Linked DNA regions of Homo sapiens: regions 1 and 3 are each linked to region 2. Evidence: promoter capture Hi-C in 16 types of primary human blood cells and fetal thymus (Javierre and others, 2016). All regions are on one chromosome and are shown on one strand. Each heading gives the region's core, a stretch centred on a gene start or on the middle of the fragment in contact. The rest is flanking DNA. Distances are from core to core; before and after follow the strand shown. Region 1 overlaps LDB1 (LIM domain binding 1). Region 2 holds the start of ACTR1A (actin related protein 1A). Region 3 has its middle 26 kb from the start of NOLC1.

Region 1 (2,747 bases), core at 118-2,617, 390 kb before region 2:
CGTGTGCCTCATCCTGCCTAGCAGGCTTTCACCCTCAGCTCGCCCTAACATGCCTATCAAGGGCTGGAACCCAGCAGCCCCAGGCAGATTCAGATGCCCGCAACAGGCCCTCACCCCATGCACGAGCTCTCACGGGCCACATCCATATGCTCCAAGAACAGCACACACAGCCTTCACATGCCAGTCTGGACTGAGCCTGTGTCTCCAGAAAGACAGTCCCCACCCAGCCACCAAGTCTCCCCAATCCACAGACAGGCAGACTAAGGCCACACAGGAAGCCCAAACTCACACAGCCCACCAGAGGCCAGGCCTGGGCAATAAACCCAAGAGTAGATTCTCAGACCTGGCCCTCATCCCCCAACTAGGCCATCCTTTCTCCCATAGCTTAACCACCCCTGCCTCCTCAGTTTCCGGGCCACTTGAAATGTGTTAGCTCAAGAACCTGAAGAGACAGGAGGCAGGACGCCTGGGTTTCTCTCCAATTTTGTAAAAAAAAAAAAAAAAAAACTCTCAGAGCCTCCATTTCTCTCTCTAGAGAATGAACAGGCATTGTCTAGGCCTGGGTAAATAGCTCTGAGGAGCTAGAGCCCAAAGCTCTGGGCCTCTATTTACACCTCCAGTGAATGGACACAAACTCAGCATCTCTCCAGAGCCACAACTCCCAGTGGCTCCAGCACAAGGGCTTGGGAGTGAGTAGAGAAGGGGAGGGACATCACCCAGACCATCTGTCCCTGTTGCTGCCTGTCCCCAGCAGCAGGAGTAGAGGCAGCAAGGTGGGGGGACGGAGGAGATGTGTCATCCAGCCCTGGAGTCAGCCATAGCCCCCCTCCCACCTCTAGCAAATTGGAAGCCTTTAGGAAGGGGGAGAGAAGAGCCCAGAACTAGTAAAGTTTTCTCAGGGTGGAAGCTGCATCCCGGGGCTGAGGGGGGCACCTCCAGCTGGGTATTGCCATGGTAACCAGGCTGACTCGAGGGCAGGCCTCCTCCCTTTAGGGACTGGCCACAGGTCAGCAGGCCTGAGCGCCCCGGCGGCTCTGGGCTGGGGCACCTCTCCCCCAGCCCGCAGATCAGGCCCGGGCCGGGCTGAGGGCCTTCCGCCCACCCCCAACAGGCTCGCAGGGTGCCCAGACTTACCTGGGAGAACTGAGGGGGCCAGGAGAGGTACGGGGGAGCGACTGCAAGCCCAGAGGAGTCCTGGCAGGGGTGAGGGCTGACGGGGGGACAACTTCAGCAGCTCATGTCCCGAGTGGGACGGGCAGGCCCGACTGGGAGCTCCAGTCCGCCGGCCGCACAAAGACTCGCACGCACTGCCTCGGCCCGCCCCGCGGCGGCCGCTGTCCCGGGGGAAAGTTACAATGGCCACTGGGCCGGGGGCCGGGGGCCAGGGGGCCGGCCTGGGGGGCGGGGGGCCGCGGGGAGTCCGGAGCCTTCTTTGTTTGCAAGGTTTCCCTCAACAATGGCTGCTCCGCTCTTTCCTCTCTCCTCCTCCTCCTTCTCGGCTCTCCCCGCCGCCGCCTCTTGCTGCCTCTGCCTCCGAGCAGCCCGCCCGCCCTCCCCAGGCCACCGGGCCCCTCTGCTGGGGGCACCAGGAGAGGCAGGACCCGGCACTCACACTCACTCACACTCGCACACTCAAACACACACGCAGCGCCCGCCGGCTGCCTGCCTTTCTCCCTTTCTCTCCCTGCCTCCCTCCCTCCCCGCTCGCTCTCTCCGAGCCTCTCTCAGAATGAGGCCCCAGGGCGGGCGGAGGGTGGAGCTGCCCCCACCGGCCCCGCCCCCTCCCTGAGAGGAAAGAGGAAGAGCAAGGGAGGGAGGGAGGCTGGGACGGAGGGACTGCTGAGAAAAACAAAAGAGAGACAGAGACTGGGAGAGACAGGGGACGGATCAGATTGGGCCAGGAGAGACCTGGATGGAGGAGAGGCCTGTGGGGGCCAGGAACGAAATGCAGCCCGCCTCCCCCGAGCCCCAGGCACGGTGCTCAGGAGTGAGCAGGTGGGCCAAAGCCACTGGCAGAGATGGAGGAGGGCGGGCTCCTCTCTGCAGACTCCAAGATCTTCAAAGCACCTCCCAAACCTCCCCCAAATCTTTCTCGCCCCTGTGATCGCTCAGGTTGAAGGCTGGCCCGGACTGCCAGCCTGGGCTCCCCTGGTGAAATCCTGGAGCAGCTGGGGGGAGAGGCTCCAGGGGGTTATTTTTGACAGACACACATTCTGACATCAGACTGTAAACACTGATTGGAGGAAGGGGGACACTCCAGGCTTCCCTGCCCCCAACCCAGCTAAATTCCAAGCCTTGACTTAGATCCCCCTTAACAGGAAGCCCCCTTCCCCACCACCACTGAAGACAAGTGGGTGCCAGGGAAAGAGGCATTGTCAGAGCTAGGGAAAGCCAACTTGGCCATCCAAGGGTCCCCAGAAGGAGCTTAGTTTGCTGCTGAATCCTCCCCACCACCCCAGAAAAAAAAACGTGTGGTTAGTGGATAGGACCTGTTCTCCCATCCAGCAGGGCATCCCAAGGGAGCAGATATTTCTATTTTTTTTCCTAAGGTAATTTTGTTGTAGCAGGAGGGAATATTTCTAAAACTTGGGTAGTGGGCCAGACCTTACTCGTGGACAAATAGGAAAAGGAAAATACATAGTACACACACACACACACAAACACACACACACACACGGGAAGGGGGAGCACGAACCTTCTATTTCCTTCTTTGCAATTTGAGTGTCTGTTTCTCTACTTCCTGTCTC
Region 2 (2,824 bases), core at 325-2,824:
AATAATAAAAACAAAATACCCATGGAGAGAAGGAAAATTTAATGAAAACAACAACAAAAATATATTGGAAAAAGCAAGCAACTTGGAACTGGATCTTAGTCTGATGACTGGCTCCTCAATTCCTAAACTGGATGGTTTGAAATCTGTTATTTAACATCCCTGCATACACTGGGGATAGTAATTCCTATCTACCTAACAGAGCTGAAGCTTAAACGAGAACATTGTAATATGCCTAAGGTCCCAAGAGCTGAATCAACAAAGGGAATCTGACAGAGTCAGCTTACAACAGAGGGAACTGGTAGTTTTGCCTCAATGGAGGGACCTACAAGGGACACAGACAGGGATCAATCTCTGTGGGACCAAAGCTTTGAATCGAAGGCAGAAATGCAGTCGTTTTACAATTTTCTCCTTTCCCCCCAAAATAAGAGCAGTATTTAGATTCTTTCTATTGGTCAATATTGATGCTTCTGCATGGTGGTGCTGGCAAAAGGGATGACGGATAAAGTACTGGATTTAGGGCACCTCTGCTATGTGACCTTGGGCTCACGTTACGTCTTCGCGCTTCAGTTTTCTCATCGGTAACACGAAGATCAAAGTTCCTTTTAAACTATGCGTCCAGTTTTTGTGAGGATCCAACTCGAATGTATGTGAAAACGCCCTGGAAGCGCTAGAGCGCCAGGCAAATATTAAGTTTGGTAATTTTTTCCCCGTAAGAACTAGGCGTTCCAAAGAGGAGGACAACCTCTCTGCTTCCTTTGTCACTCTCCTTTCTTCTCGACCTTTACCAACTTTGTAATTTATAATCACAGTAATAGCTGACATCCTACAGCGGTTTCTGGCACCAGATTCTCGGGCCCCACCCAGATCCACACCACCAAGCCGCAGCGCCGGCTGAGACCGAAGGAAAACTTAGCCGTTCTCCACCCGCGGGCGGGCACTCGCCTCTAGGCCCCACCACCCAGAGTCCCGGAAGCCAATCCCCACAGCCCTGGAGCACTGCCCCGCCCCTTCAAGAGGGAAAACAATATGGCGGCAAGGAAGAATGGCAGGGGCGTGAGCCAATCACCGCAGAGGCCTAGCCTCATCCGGCAAGGCTAAGAGGCGGTATCATTGGCTAAGATGGACAGCCAGAGCAACCAATAGAGCGATCGGAAATGGGGGAGAGGGCGGGCGACGGGAATCTCACACAGCGGTTAAGGCCCCTAGAGCCAAGGGCCCAAGGACTGGCTTGGACTATAACTCTTTCCTTTATCCACTCCAGAGTTCTCCATCCCACTTTTGCTGGCTGGCCGCCTTGCCTGCGGACTATGTGATAAGGGGAGGAAGGAGGCGGCGGTGGCTGAACGCGCCTGACAGGCCGGGCCAGTGACAAAGAGCCGGCGGCTCAGGCTGAACCCCGGGAAGCGATCCTTTCGAGGAGGAGAGCCCAAGTCCCCTTATAGATAGGAAAGACGCAACTCACGTTGTCGATCACGACAGGCTGGTTGGCGATCACATCGTAGGACTCCATGGCAGAGGAATCTCTCCTTCTGGGGAAGGAACTGCCCAGCCGGGTCCGCCGCTAGCGCCACTGACACGCATGCGCAGTCTAGCCGCCGGTTCAGGGCGGCGAGGGAGCGGCCCGACCTCGCCTCTGAAGAACTACAATCCCCAGCAAGCTTTGCGCCTGGGTTAGCGATCTAGCTTGCTTTGTTGCCCGCCTAGTTTAAGATTGGGAGTCGCATTTCCAATGCGCAGTACCCTGGGATTTGTGGTCTCCCTAGATTAAACAGCCAGAGACACAGGTTGATGGTCATGTTGCATGCCTGGATCTGTAGTCCCTTTGAAGGAGTTCGCAGTGCATGCTGAGGTATGTAGTCTTCTCGAGTACTTGTCTGTAGTTCGGTTTGGATTGGTCGTAATTCATGGATGTTTGGATTTTGCAGATCAGCCCTGCCACTCCCCCCGACGTTCCCTTAGACAATATAAGGTTCTCATGTTTTTATTTGGGTCTGTAAGACTTTAATAAACATCTCCTAGCACCTCACACTCTAACAAAAAGGAAATGTTAACACACGTACGCGAGAGGACATATTCCTACAACAAAGGAAAACAATTTAAATTGCATAAAATTAGCTTTAAGTTTAAAAACCTGTACATTGTCGTTGCCTTTTGCATTTTCTTTTTTTCTGCATAACAGGCTAACATTGATCCGAAGATTGGCAATTGGAACTACTGGTATAGGTAATCTTTTGGTCATTAAAACATCATCTAAGGGTTTCAGAAACTGCTCGAGTATCTCTTTAATTTTCATAACGAGCTAGAATTGACACTGATGGTTGAGAAAATGGAGGTGAAGAGAGGTTATGTGTCACTGCTTTCAAATGAGCCCAGTGCATTTTTTTCTCTGGATTATGTTCTCCCCCAGCCCCCTTGAAATTTCAGGGACCTTTTTGTCAATAGCCCTAGAAAACATTAGATTTATTATCATCTATTAATACTAACGCCCCATGGATGAATGAATCAATCCATTGTCAGATTTATGTTTAAATCCTAGTTAGCAGCGCGTCAGCAAAACAGTAACAAATCCTTTGTTGGCGCACTTCTCGCTGCTTTCGTGGGACCTTAGCACCTCAGAGGGTGCTCAGCATCTCTAAACTTGGGTTCCTCCTAACACTAGGGGGAGACCAAGAGCCTTGGGACACTCCCAACACAGGGAGGGGAGGCGGGGCCTATTGTCAAGTCACACCTTCCCTGCCTGTGACTGGCACAGACATTAGCCAATGGGTGCTTGGATAGGGTGCGCCGGCGCCCCGCCCCCCTTAGCGCCCCGCCGCCCCGAGGC
Region 3 (2,700 bases), core at 173-2,672, 320 kb before region 2:
GGGGCTGAGGCAGGAGAACCGCCTGAACTTGGGAGGTGGAGGTTGCAGTGAGCCGAGATCTCACCACTGCATGCCAAGCTGGGCAACAAGAGTGAGACTCCATCTCAAAAAAATTAAAGTTAAGCCTTTAAGGAAAAAGGCTTTACTTTTCACACTTAAAAGAATTATCAGGCCGGGCGCAGTGGCAGGCGCCTGTAGTCCCAGCTACTCGGCAGGAGAATCACTTGAACCCAGGAGGCGGAGGTTGCAGTGAGCTGAGATTGCACCACTGCACTCCTGCCTGGCGACAGAATGAGACTCTGCCTCAAAAAAAAAAAAAGAATTATCAGTATAGTAATTAGTTGGTATCATTAAACATCCAGTGAGTATCACCATCCAGTCAGTAGAGATGGGATTTCACCATGTTGCCCAGCCTGGTCTCAAACTCCTGGGTCCAAGAGATCTGCCCACCTCTGCCTCCCAAAGTGCTGGGATTATAGGCATGAGCCACCACACCAGGACTTTAAAAAATTTTTTTCTTGAATTGAGTAGTGCTTTAGAATTATCCATTAAGCTTCATGTTTATGTTTGCTGTATTTCACACACACATACAAAGTGTTGTTGTTGTTTTAAAGAAGAATGCTGTGTTTCCTTGGGACAGGTGAGGTGAGAGGAGAAACGTAGAAGGAGAAAAGTAGAGAGATGGAAAAAAGAGGGCTCTGAGGAATACAAAACCTGCAAGACAAAAGGGAAAAGAGTGGCTGTGGGGGCCGTGGACCCTGAGAAGGTGTTTCCAGGTTCTCCACAGAGGGACCCCAGACCTTGCATCTGCAAGCCCACTTGAGCTCCAGGCTTCTGGAGAGGTCTCCAGAGAGCGGGACTAGAAAGGCAGCCCCAGGAGTGATGATGGTGAGCCTGCCCGGGCCAGAGCAACTCCAGGACAAAAAGCAAAGGGGCCTGGGAAGTTGGAGAAAGTTTCTTTTCATTTTCTCTTTTTCATTTGAGAAAGGCAGCAGAGAGCAGTGGAAAGGACCAAAGGGCCCCGTGTCTGAATTGTAGCACTAGTAGTTGTGTGATACTGGGTTATGATACTCCATTAAATTTTTTTTTTTTACTCTCCTCTAATTTCTTTTACCAGACTCCATTAATTTTTATCTCAGCTTCATTATACAGGTTGAGTATCCCTTATCCAGAAGGGCTTCAGATTTTGTGTGTTTTTTTGTTTTTGTTTTTGGACTTTGGAATATTTGCATGTACATAATGAGATATCTTGGGGATGGGACGAAAGTCTAAACAAGAAATTCATTTGCGTTTCATATACATTTTATACACATAGCCTGAAGATAATTTTATTATGTATTTATGTATATAAACATAAAAATATGTGTGTATATTTATTTTTTTGAGATGGAATCTCACTCTATTGCAAGGCTGGAGTGCAGTGGCACGATTTTGGCTCACTGCAACCTCCACCTCCTGGGTTCAAGCGATTCTCCTGCCTCAGCCTCCTGAGTAGCTGGGACTACAGGAGTGTGCCACCACACCTGGCAAATTTTTGTATTTTTTAATAGAGACAGGGTTTCGCCATGTTGGCCAGGTTGATCTCGAACTCCTGACCTCAGGTGATCCACCCGCCTAGGCTTCCCAGAGTTCTGGGATTACAGGTGTGAGCCACTACACCTGGCCAATTTTATATTATATTTTAAAACAATTTTGTGGCTGGGCGGAGTGGCTCACACCTGTAATTCCAGCACTTTGGGAGGCTGAGGTGGAGCCCAGCATTTGGAGACCAGCCTGGCCAACATGTTGAAACCCCGTCTCTACTAAAAATACAAAAATTAGTCAGTAGTGGTAGCTGGTGCCTGTAATCCCAGTTTTTCGGGAGGCTGAGGCAGGAGAATCTCTTCAGCCTAGGAAGTGCAGTTTGCAGTGAGCCCAGATCGTGACACTGCACTCCAGCTTGGGCAACAGAGTGAGACCCCATCTCCAAAAATTAAAAAAAAAAAAAAGAAGCTGAGGTGGGCGGATCACTTGAGCCCAGGAGGTCAAGGCTTTGGTGAGCTGAGATCACGCCACTGCACTCCAGCCTGGGTGACAGAGCAAGACCCTGTCTCAAAAAATAAAATAATTTTGTGCATGAAACAAAATGTTGACTTCATTTGACTGAGACCTGTCATATGAGGTCAGGTGTGGAATTTTTCACTTGTGGCATCATGTTGGCACTTAAAAAGTATCAAATTTTGGAGTATTTTGGATTTCAGGTTTTGGATTAGAGATGCTCAGCTCAGCTTGCATGTAAATAGTAACAATAGCCAAGCTTTATTATATGCTTACAATAAGCCAGGCCCTGTAAACCTTGAAAATACAACTCATTTGGCCAGGCGCGGTGGCTCATGCCTGTAATCCCAGCACTTTGGGAGGCCAAGGCGGGCGGATCACGAGGCCAGGAGATAGAGAACATCTTGGCCAACATGGTGAAACCTCATCTCTACCAAAAATACTAAAAAAAATTAGCTGGGCATGGTGGCATGCACCTGTAGTCCCAGCTACCTGGGAGGCTGAGGCAGGAGAATCGCTTGAACCTGGGAGGCAGAGGTTGCTGTGAGCACCACTACTCCAGCCTGGCGACACAGCGTGACTGCATCTAAAAAATATATATATATATATATGCACATACATATATATATATGTCTTATTTACTCCTTACAACAGCCCTCGAAG

Evidence for each region. The method cuts DNA at HindIII sites, captures the fragments that hold promoters and counts their contacts. A CHiCAGO score of 5 or more calls a contact.
Region 1: a contact is called between a fragment that was not itself captured here and the fragment with the promoter of ACTR1A in region 2, in 6 of 17 cell types (activated CD4 T cells, fetal thymus, naive CD4 T cells and 3 more). The highest score is 7.7, in activated CD4 T cells.
Region 3: a contact is called between a fragment that was not itself captured here and the fragment with the promoter of ACTR1A in region 2, in 2 of 17 cell types (activated CD4 T cells and endothelial precursors). The highest score is 7.1, in activated CD4 T cells.

The regions. Positions count from the first base shown.
Region 1 is chr10:102,113,272-102,116,018 of GRCh38, forward strand. The region is part of intron 1 of LDB1 (LIM domain binding 1); the gene reads right to left. Among named protein-coding and RNA genes, the nearest start is that of LDB1, 5.7 kb to the right of the region's middle. RefSeq lists silencers at 1,083-1,172, 1,223-1,372, 1,393-1,542, 1,653-1,862. The HindIII fragment of the contact is 8,794 bases long and covers 1-2,747 here.
Region 2 is chr10:102,501,138-102,503,961 of GRCh38, forward strand. It overlaps ACTR1A (actin related protein 1A), which reads right to left and starts at 1,575. Exons shown (of 11, transcript NM_005736.4): 1 at 1,463-1,575. The coding sequence starts at 1,510. It also overlaps a transcript of SUFU not described here. RefSeq lists enhancers at 1-59, 1,454-1,553 and silencers at 1,904-1,973, 2,651-2,824. The HindIII fragment of the contact is 1,293 bases long and covers 364-1,656 here.
Region 3 is chr10:102,177,421-102,180,120 of GRCh38, forward strand. No RefSeq gene overlaps it. Among named protein-coding and RNA genes, the nearest start is that of NOLC1, 26 kb to the left of the region's middle. The HindIII fragment of the contact is 1,743 bases long and covers 552-2,294 here.